Linked DNA regions of Homo sapiens: region 1 is linked to region 2. The links are contacts of gene promoters, found by promoter capture Hi-C in human tissues and cell types (Jung and others, 2019). All regions are on one chromosome and are shown on one strand. Each heading gives the region's core, a stretch centred on a gene start or on the middle of the fragment in contact. The rest is flanking DNA. Distances are from core to core; before and after follow the strand shown.

What was found. The method cuts DNA at HindIII sites, captures the fragments that hold promoters and counts their contacts. A contact is called where the count stands out against the background at its distance.
Region 1: a fragment that was not itself captured here is called in contact with the fragment with the promoter of PPA1 in region 2 in 3 of the 25 tissues and cell types used here (IMR-90 fibroblasts, hippocampus and lymphoblastoid cells).

The regions. Positions count from the first base shown.
Region 1 is chr10:70,331,872-70,335,466 of GRCh38, reverse strand. All of the region lies in intron 3 of LRRC20 (leucine rich repeat containing 20), which reads left to right. Among named protein-coding and RNA genes, the nearest start is that of LRRC20, 49 kb to the left of the region's middle. RefSeq lists enhancers at 1-467, 3,420-3,595. The HindIII fragment of the contact is 5,717 bases long and covers 1-3,595 here.
Region 2 is chr10:70,231,486-70,235,157 of GRCh38, reverse strand. PPA1 (inorganic pyrophosphatase 1) reads left to right here and starts at 1,729. Exons shown (of 11, transcript NM_021129.4): 1 at 1,729-1,894. The coding sequence starts at 1,831. RefSeq lists a silencer at 1,518-2,087. The HindIII fragment of the contact is 11,213 bases long and covers 1-2,247 here.

The DNA of each region.
Region 1 (3,595 bases), core at 785-3,284, 100 kb before region 2:
AGCTGGCTGCTGGGGCTGCTGCAGGGCAGGGGAGCGGCTTTGGTTGGTCGGGAGCAGCTGTGTGTGGGCGCGGGCGGGCGGACTGGGAGGTGGGTTGCTCCAGTCGGCCAGCCTGGGGCCTCCATGGAGACTTGCTGACCCCAAGACCCTGCATCTGGAGGTAACACAGCCTGGTGGAACTGGGCCCCAGAGGGCTTGTGAGTAGTTGGGGAGCATCCAGCAATGTGGAGTTGAGAAGTTCCCTGGGGCTCGTGGCTCATTTTCTCTGATTTTTCAGCAGCACCAGGCTTCTTGCCTCTTTCTGTTTCCCCAAGTGTGTGTTCTTTACACTGTCCCTGACAGGGAGATGCCAGCCAGCCATAAACTCCGGGAAGAAGTGTGGTTTCCTCCTCAGAGCCAGGCCCTCCCAGGGGTGACCTCGGAGATGTGCCCAGGGTGAGCCCACAGGGTGCATGACACCTGGGGGGAGCCTGTCTGCAGAGGGCTCCTGGCTGCTCACTGGGCTGCCCCTTACCCTCACCACAGGGCTCTCCAGGCAGCAGCTCCTGGTGCCTGCCAGAGAAAATGGGGCAATTTTCCTCATTATCTCAGCAATTAGGACAGTCAGGAGGGAGGCACCAGGCTTTATCTTTACCTCTGGCAACCGCCTTGGTGCCAGAGGGGGCCACGCCTCAGCCTTGGCTCCTCTCTGCACACTTTGGGGAGTGGTCTTCCTGCTCCAAGGGCCCTACATGCCTGGTGCCTGGGGGTGGGTGTGGGCAGAGGGCATGGAGAAGCTAGGTTAAAGCAACTGAGTTCATCCTAACAGGCCAGGGTGGTGAGGACGGGGTGGGTCCCTCTGTTCCTCAGGCCATGCCATCAAAGCTGCTGCTGTCCACGTGTGGTCAGGAGTCTTAGGCGGTATTTGGGGGTGGGAAGGGGGTGTGCCAGTGAACAGTGTATGTCAGTGCCCCACAGGAGTTACTATTTTCTGGAGTTCTGGGAAGGGAGGAGACGGGGAGTGTCCCCTGGGCACATTACATTTCCAAACCCGGGGAGCAAGGGAACCGTCCTCAGAAAGGCTGTTGGGGTGTTGGGGTCACAGTGTGCTGTTCCTCCCCAGCTTCCTACTTCACTTCAGCCCACTGGGTTTACTTTTTCTAATAGCTGATGTTACTTAGTGGACAAAAGAGAAAAGAAGAGGGGGCTCAGGAATGTGCAGGGACAGCAGGGCAGACATGGAAGCTTTGTGCGGTCAATGGGATGCTTAGGTTTGGTTGTAGCATGGGATCAGGCAGATCTACTCTGTCAGAAACACATTTTCTTTTTTTTTTTTTTAAGATGGAGTCTCGCTGTGTCACCCAGGGTGGAGTGCAGTGGCACTATCTCTGCTCACTGCCACCTCCACCTCCCCAGTTCAAGCGATTCTTCTGCCTCAGCCTCCCGAGTAGCTGGGATTACAGGCACTTGCCACCACGCCTGGCTAATTTTTGTATTTTTAGTAGAGACAGGATTTAACCATGTTGGTCAGGCTGGTCTCAAACTCCTGGCCTCAGATGATCCACCCATCATGTCCTCCCAAAGTGTTGGGATAATAGGCCTGAGCCACAGCACCCGGCCAGAAACACATTTTCTGGTTCTTTCAGTGCAACCCACCACTGGAATAGTGGGGTCTGGGAGAGTCCATCTCCCCTGAGTTATGCACAAGGGGCAGACCCCAATTGCAGATGATCAAGAGTTCCTACCTGGTACCAAGGCAGTGACAAGGTTGTGGCCTTCTGCATCAGTTTTTGCCATCAGTCCTCAAGGGTGCCCCACCCCTGGAGCTACCTGGATGACCTCAGTGAAGCAAAGGCCAAACTGTTTGTGACCCCTGCATGGCTGCTTCTGGGCAGTGGGTCAGCCCTTCCTAGCAGTGTTAAGGAACCCAAGCATCATGGGCTTCAGCATCCTTAGTAGAATCCCAGAGATGGGATCACTGAGGTCAGAGGGCATTTTGAGGCTCTACTACATATAGCAGAAGAACCGCCCAGCAGAGACCAACCAACCTACAGAGCTACAAAAAATAAGTTAAATTCCCTATGAAGGGGAGTTGGGGCAGCCTGGAGATGGATTGCTGCTGCACCAGCAGGAGAGCATCGCTTCCATCCTGGGTCTTAACCACCCCTAGAAACCAGCAGACCTCAACAGCCCCCTTGCACCCCCCAGCCCAGAATTCTGTACAGTGTGTTGGGGGAGGAGGGTACACCTGGAACACCAGGACCGTGTGGCTCTGAGCCTCTGGTACCTCTGTCCTCCAGAGCCCAAGCTAACACTTCTTGCAACCCTGTAAGGCAGAAGACTGCAGTTTCCCTTCACTTCCCTCTTCCAGGCTCTAAGTGCAGCTCTCCTTTGCTCCCAGCTCTGCGATTCAGATGTTTCCATACCTGCCTCTGCTCTTCTTACCCATTCCCAAGCACCTCTCTTGTTGCTGTTTATGTCTCTGCCACACCTGCAGAGCTCTAAGTCTTCATTTGAAAAACGTATCCTATTTACTTATTTATTTTTGATTAGGCAGTAGATGCACACAATGTGATATTTTGAGGATTGAAAGGATAGTGGGGAAAAATAAGTCTGCTCTTCTACTCCTGTCCCCAGACATCCAAGTCCGTGTCCAGAGACAACCACCATTAGCAGTACTGGAGATATTCCATGCCTATGTAAATATAAATATACTTCATAATAGTAGCATTTATAATATGCCACCAAGGGTAGGTACTGTTGTAAGCAAACAGAGCATAAAGTAACAAGTAACTTGCCCAAGTTCACACAGCAAGAAAAAAGAGCTACCTTAGTCTTTTCTTTTGAAACAGGTCTCCCTCTGTCACCCAGGCTGGAGTGCAGTGGTGCAATCTCGGCTCACTGCAACCTCTGCCTCCTGGGCTCAAGTGATCTTTCCACCTTAGCCTCCCGACTAGCTGGGACTACGGCACACACCATCAAACCTAGCTAATTTTTTGTATTGTTTGTAGAGACAGGGTCTTGCCATGTTGCCCAGGCTAGTCTTGAACTCCTAGACTCAAGTGATCCGCCTGTCTCAGCCTCCCAAAGTGTTGGGATTACAGGCGTGAGCCACTGCACCTGGCCTGCCTTAGTCTTTTTATGGAGGCAGAATGTTTAGTACTTCATTTTAGTCTGTTCCAGACCTTGTTAAAAGTGCTTTTTCTGCCCTTCCCCTTGTCCACCCCCAAGGAGTGAGTGTGGCATCTGGAAATGCCCTCTGACCCCTGTGGGCAGCAGCTGTCTCTGTGTGAAGCCTCCTCAGCACTGAGCATGGGCTGGTGGAAGGACACTGCCCACCTGACCGTCTGACTCTGCCCTGCTGGGGAGTCCGTGCAGTCAGGGACTGTGATTGCTCATTGCCGCAGGTTCAGAGCCGAGGTGCTGATTGAGGTTTGGTGAGCAGGTATTTTTGGAGTTGGCACATTCCTTCGAGCATGGGTTGTATAATTACTGCAGGCCAGCCTTGTCTGTCCCCTAATGGAATTGGCAAGCTTCTCTCTCAGCTGGGGTTAATCTAAGGCCTCTGAGTCAGCCTTGGCAATTGTCCAAGATAAGGATGGTACAGGAAGTAATA
Region 2 (3,672 bases), core at 480-2,979:
TCCATCTGCTCAAAGGCAGAAAAGTGATAGAGCAGTTCAATCAAAAGAGCATCCCCTTAAAATATTCTTTGAACTTGATCCTACTTTTTTTTCTGAAACAGAGTCTCGCTCTGTCACCCAGGCTGGAATGCACTGGCGTGATCTCAACTCACCGCAACCTCCGCCTCTCGGGATCAAGTGTTCTCCTGCCTCAGTCTCCCGAGTAGCTGGGATTACAGGCGCGTGCAACCACGCCCAGCTAATTTTTGTATTTTTACTAGGGACAGGGTTTCACTGTGTTGGCCAGGCTGGTTTCCAACTCCTGACGTCGGGTAATCCGCCCACCTCGGCCTCCCAAAGTGCTGGGATTGAAGGCGTAAGTCACCGCGCCTGGCCTTGACCCTAATTATTGACTAAACTATTGCTTCGCTAATTTTTTTTCCTGCCCTTCTGTTTTAACAGCAGTAAAACAGTGTGGTGAAATGTTCAAAAAATCAGTGAATCACAGCCTTCTGAAAATTAATGGGTGTCAGTGAGGTTTGGGAGTTGGATGGAGACAAAGGGAGCGACACCATAACTAACTGGAGATCTTACTAGGTTTTCATTTAATATTCATTTTTTACAATAGACATTGTTTGGAAAAAAGGGTTTAATTCAAAATGTCATTAAGGCACATTATCTTTAATGTTCTAGAAAAAGTTATTTAAAGAAATCCTGGCCATGAAATTAAAATAAATAAATAAATAAAACCAGGCATTCTTTGAAATGTGAATAATAATTTGCTAATTTATATTTAGGATTGTGGATATACTTTTTTTCTTTTACATGTATTCCTGGGGAGGTAAGTGATGCAAATATTTTCCCACTGCCTCAATCAGACTTTAGTTTTTGGGGTCTGGCCTGATATGATGGAATATAAACAGGAAATCAAGATCAGAAGAGCCTGTCCCTGAGAACACTCCTTCACGGGACTCTAGCTCACGCCTGGACCTTCCCAGTGCTTCCATCTGAAGCCCCTGGAGACCCAGGTGGGTTAAGTAGGGTGGCAGGGGGGATGGAGGGGGCGGGGGGCGCGGGGGCGTAAATCCTCCCCCACTGGGGAGGGTGACAGTAACAACTTCCAGATTGTTTACAAAGATACAGGCTCTGCTTCAGGCATTTGACGTGTATTAACTCGGGTAATCATCCCAGTAACTCATGAAATAGTTATATTATTATCTTCACTTCCCAGATAAGCAACGGAGTGAGAGAGATTATAGAAAGTGGAGAAGCGAGTACCTTACTAGTAGCCACTAGGGGTGTCAGTAATATGGCTCAACTTTGTTACGACGGATCAGAAAAATGCTCACCTTTAAGACCGCAAGCAGAGCCTGTCTGGGGAAGCAGGTGACTTATCAACGCCTTTTGAGATAAGGAATAGGACTGCGGGGAGGAGTGTGTGAGAATCAAAGGTGAGTTCCCTGTGTGCGTGGTCGGCGGTCAACTCCTAGCTAGTCCAAGCTTAGAGCCTGCGCATTTGCCCTCCCGGGTCAGAGCCCAAAGCCGAAGGAACAGAACCAGCGCCGGCGGCAGCCACGTGGCCCAGCCTCTGAGCCCTAGCTGCCATCGCGGAGGCTGGGCCCGAGGGGCGGGGCTGGGGAGTGCGGACACCCGGGCCTGGCGGAGTGCGCCTGCGCACGGGGTTGGCCCGGCGGGGGTGGGAACACTAGCAGAGCCGCGTTAAAGGCGCTCCCCGCCCCGCCCGCCGGTCCAGTGCTCGCAGTGCGCAGGCGTGGGGCTCTCTCCTTGTCAGTCGGCGCCGCGTGCGGGCTGGTGGCTCTGTGGCAGCGGCGGCGGCAGGACTCCGGCACTATGAGCGGCTTCAGCACCGAGGAGCGCGCCGCGCCCTTCTCCCTGGAGTACCGAGTCTTCCTCAGTGAGTGTCTGCGGCCCGTGGCCCCTCCGCGCCCGTCCGCCCATTCATTCCCGGGCCTTGCCTCCCCGGGAGGGTGCGGCCCGCGCTCGGCCCCAGGTCTCCGACGCGGGCCCGTCTCCTCGGGCGCGTTGTGGGGCCTGGCCGGCCTCACATTGCATACTTGCCGCCGCCGGTCGGGGCGGCGAGGGTCGCCTCCGGCCATCCCTCCCCGCTGAACGGAGATGGTCCCTTTGTCACGCCTCGGGGTACCCGAACCTGGGCCCAGCTAGTTTTGCAGGTGTCTGGCTCTGACAGGGTCTGTTGGGAAAAGGAAATCACCGACCCACCCTAGAAAGGTGCTTGGAAGTAACATAATTCCCGTAAGAGGATTGCTCAGTTTGGAGAAAAGGCGACTCCGGGCCGGGGGGGGCAGTGACTTCCTAAAGACCTTAATTCCGCCGCCGTAGCTCAGATTATCGGCGCTGAGCGGAGCCAAGTCCACCCCCTCGTTTTACAGACGGGAAAACTGAGGCCCGGATCGGGAGCCGTCTGTGAAGGCGCTGGACCGGTCCTCCGCGGCCCGGTCGTGCTCCTGCCTCTGCGCCGCCTGTTTTCCCTCAGCGCCGATGCTGGGAATGCTCCTTATGAAACAGAAAGCTGTTTCCCTCAAATCAAACAGATGACGTCAGTCTGGAAACAAGACTGAGAAAGTGCCAAGTTTTTACCTTTGCAGGATTCGGCGTCTAGGGGGTACCTACCCCGGGTCCTGCACCTAGGGCTGCACGGGGAAACCGGGAGGCTGCATGCTGGCGCCCTCCACGCTCCTTAGGGCACCACGTTTTTTTGGCCTTGTAGGTGGAGGAAAGCTACTTGGGGTTTTTCTTTATCCTCTTACTCCCCCCACCCCCAGCTACTAGGAGTAGATTATGGGCGATAACGGAGGCGTTCGTAAATGTGTCACCACAGGCGCTTCTATTGTAACCTCTTTACAGTTTTATTTGGAAGGAAATGGGCAGGTGCCTCGAACTCTGAGTTGGTGTATGAAGGAAGGGGAAGCGGGGAGTAGAGGAGACGAATGAATAGGCATTGAAGGAACAAAAAGTAGCCTGGTGCGGGAGGAAAAGGAAAGCGAACTGTAAAGCTTACACATCTAGCCAAAGGTTAACTATCAGGTAAAATCCAGGAAGGGTGAGAACTACCCCCCACTCTCCATTTTATTTAATTTTGCAATTAAGCAGCAAGGACAGTCCAGTAACTTTTGACTAATAATTCATGGGACTGTTTTTCTGGAAATAGTGTTGGCTCCAGAATTTCTCTGTAGGAAAGGCTTACAGAGGTGACTGTCTGGTTTGAAGGTGAGGGGTGGATCTTCAAGCTATATATGCAGAACAAACACACTGCTTTTACTTAGGTTATTTATTTGCAATTAATATTTGGTGGCCGTTATGGGAGACCAAAGCTACTCCTAGAATTTGGCACTAGCTGAAGTAACTGTTTTTATCAAGTGGAACTCTCTGGAACTTAAGAAATACTAATAATTAGAACCCACTACATAGTTATCCAATTTTAAGTGCTTTATCCTTCCTTAATAGAAATAAACTTTTTTAAGCTTTATAATATTACATTTGTCAATTTCTTTAAAACTGATAAAGGGCTGGACAGACTGCAAAGTCACAATTGGCCCTAAAGGGACTTTTATGTTTTATTGTTTGTTTTTTGAAACAAAGTCTCGCTCTGTTGCCCAGGCTGGAGTGCAGTGGCATGATCTTGGCTCATTGCAACTTCAGCCTCCCGGGTTC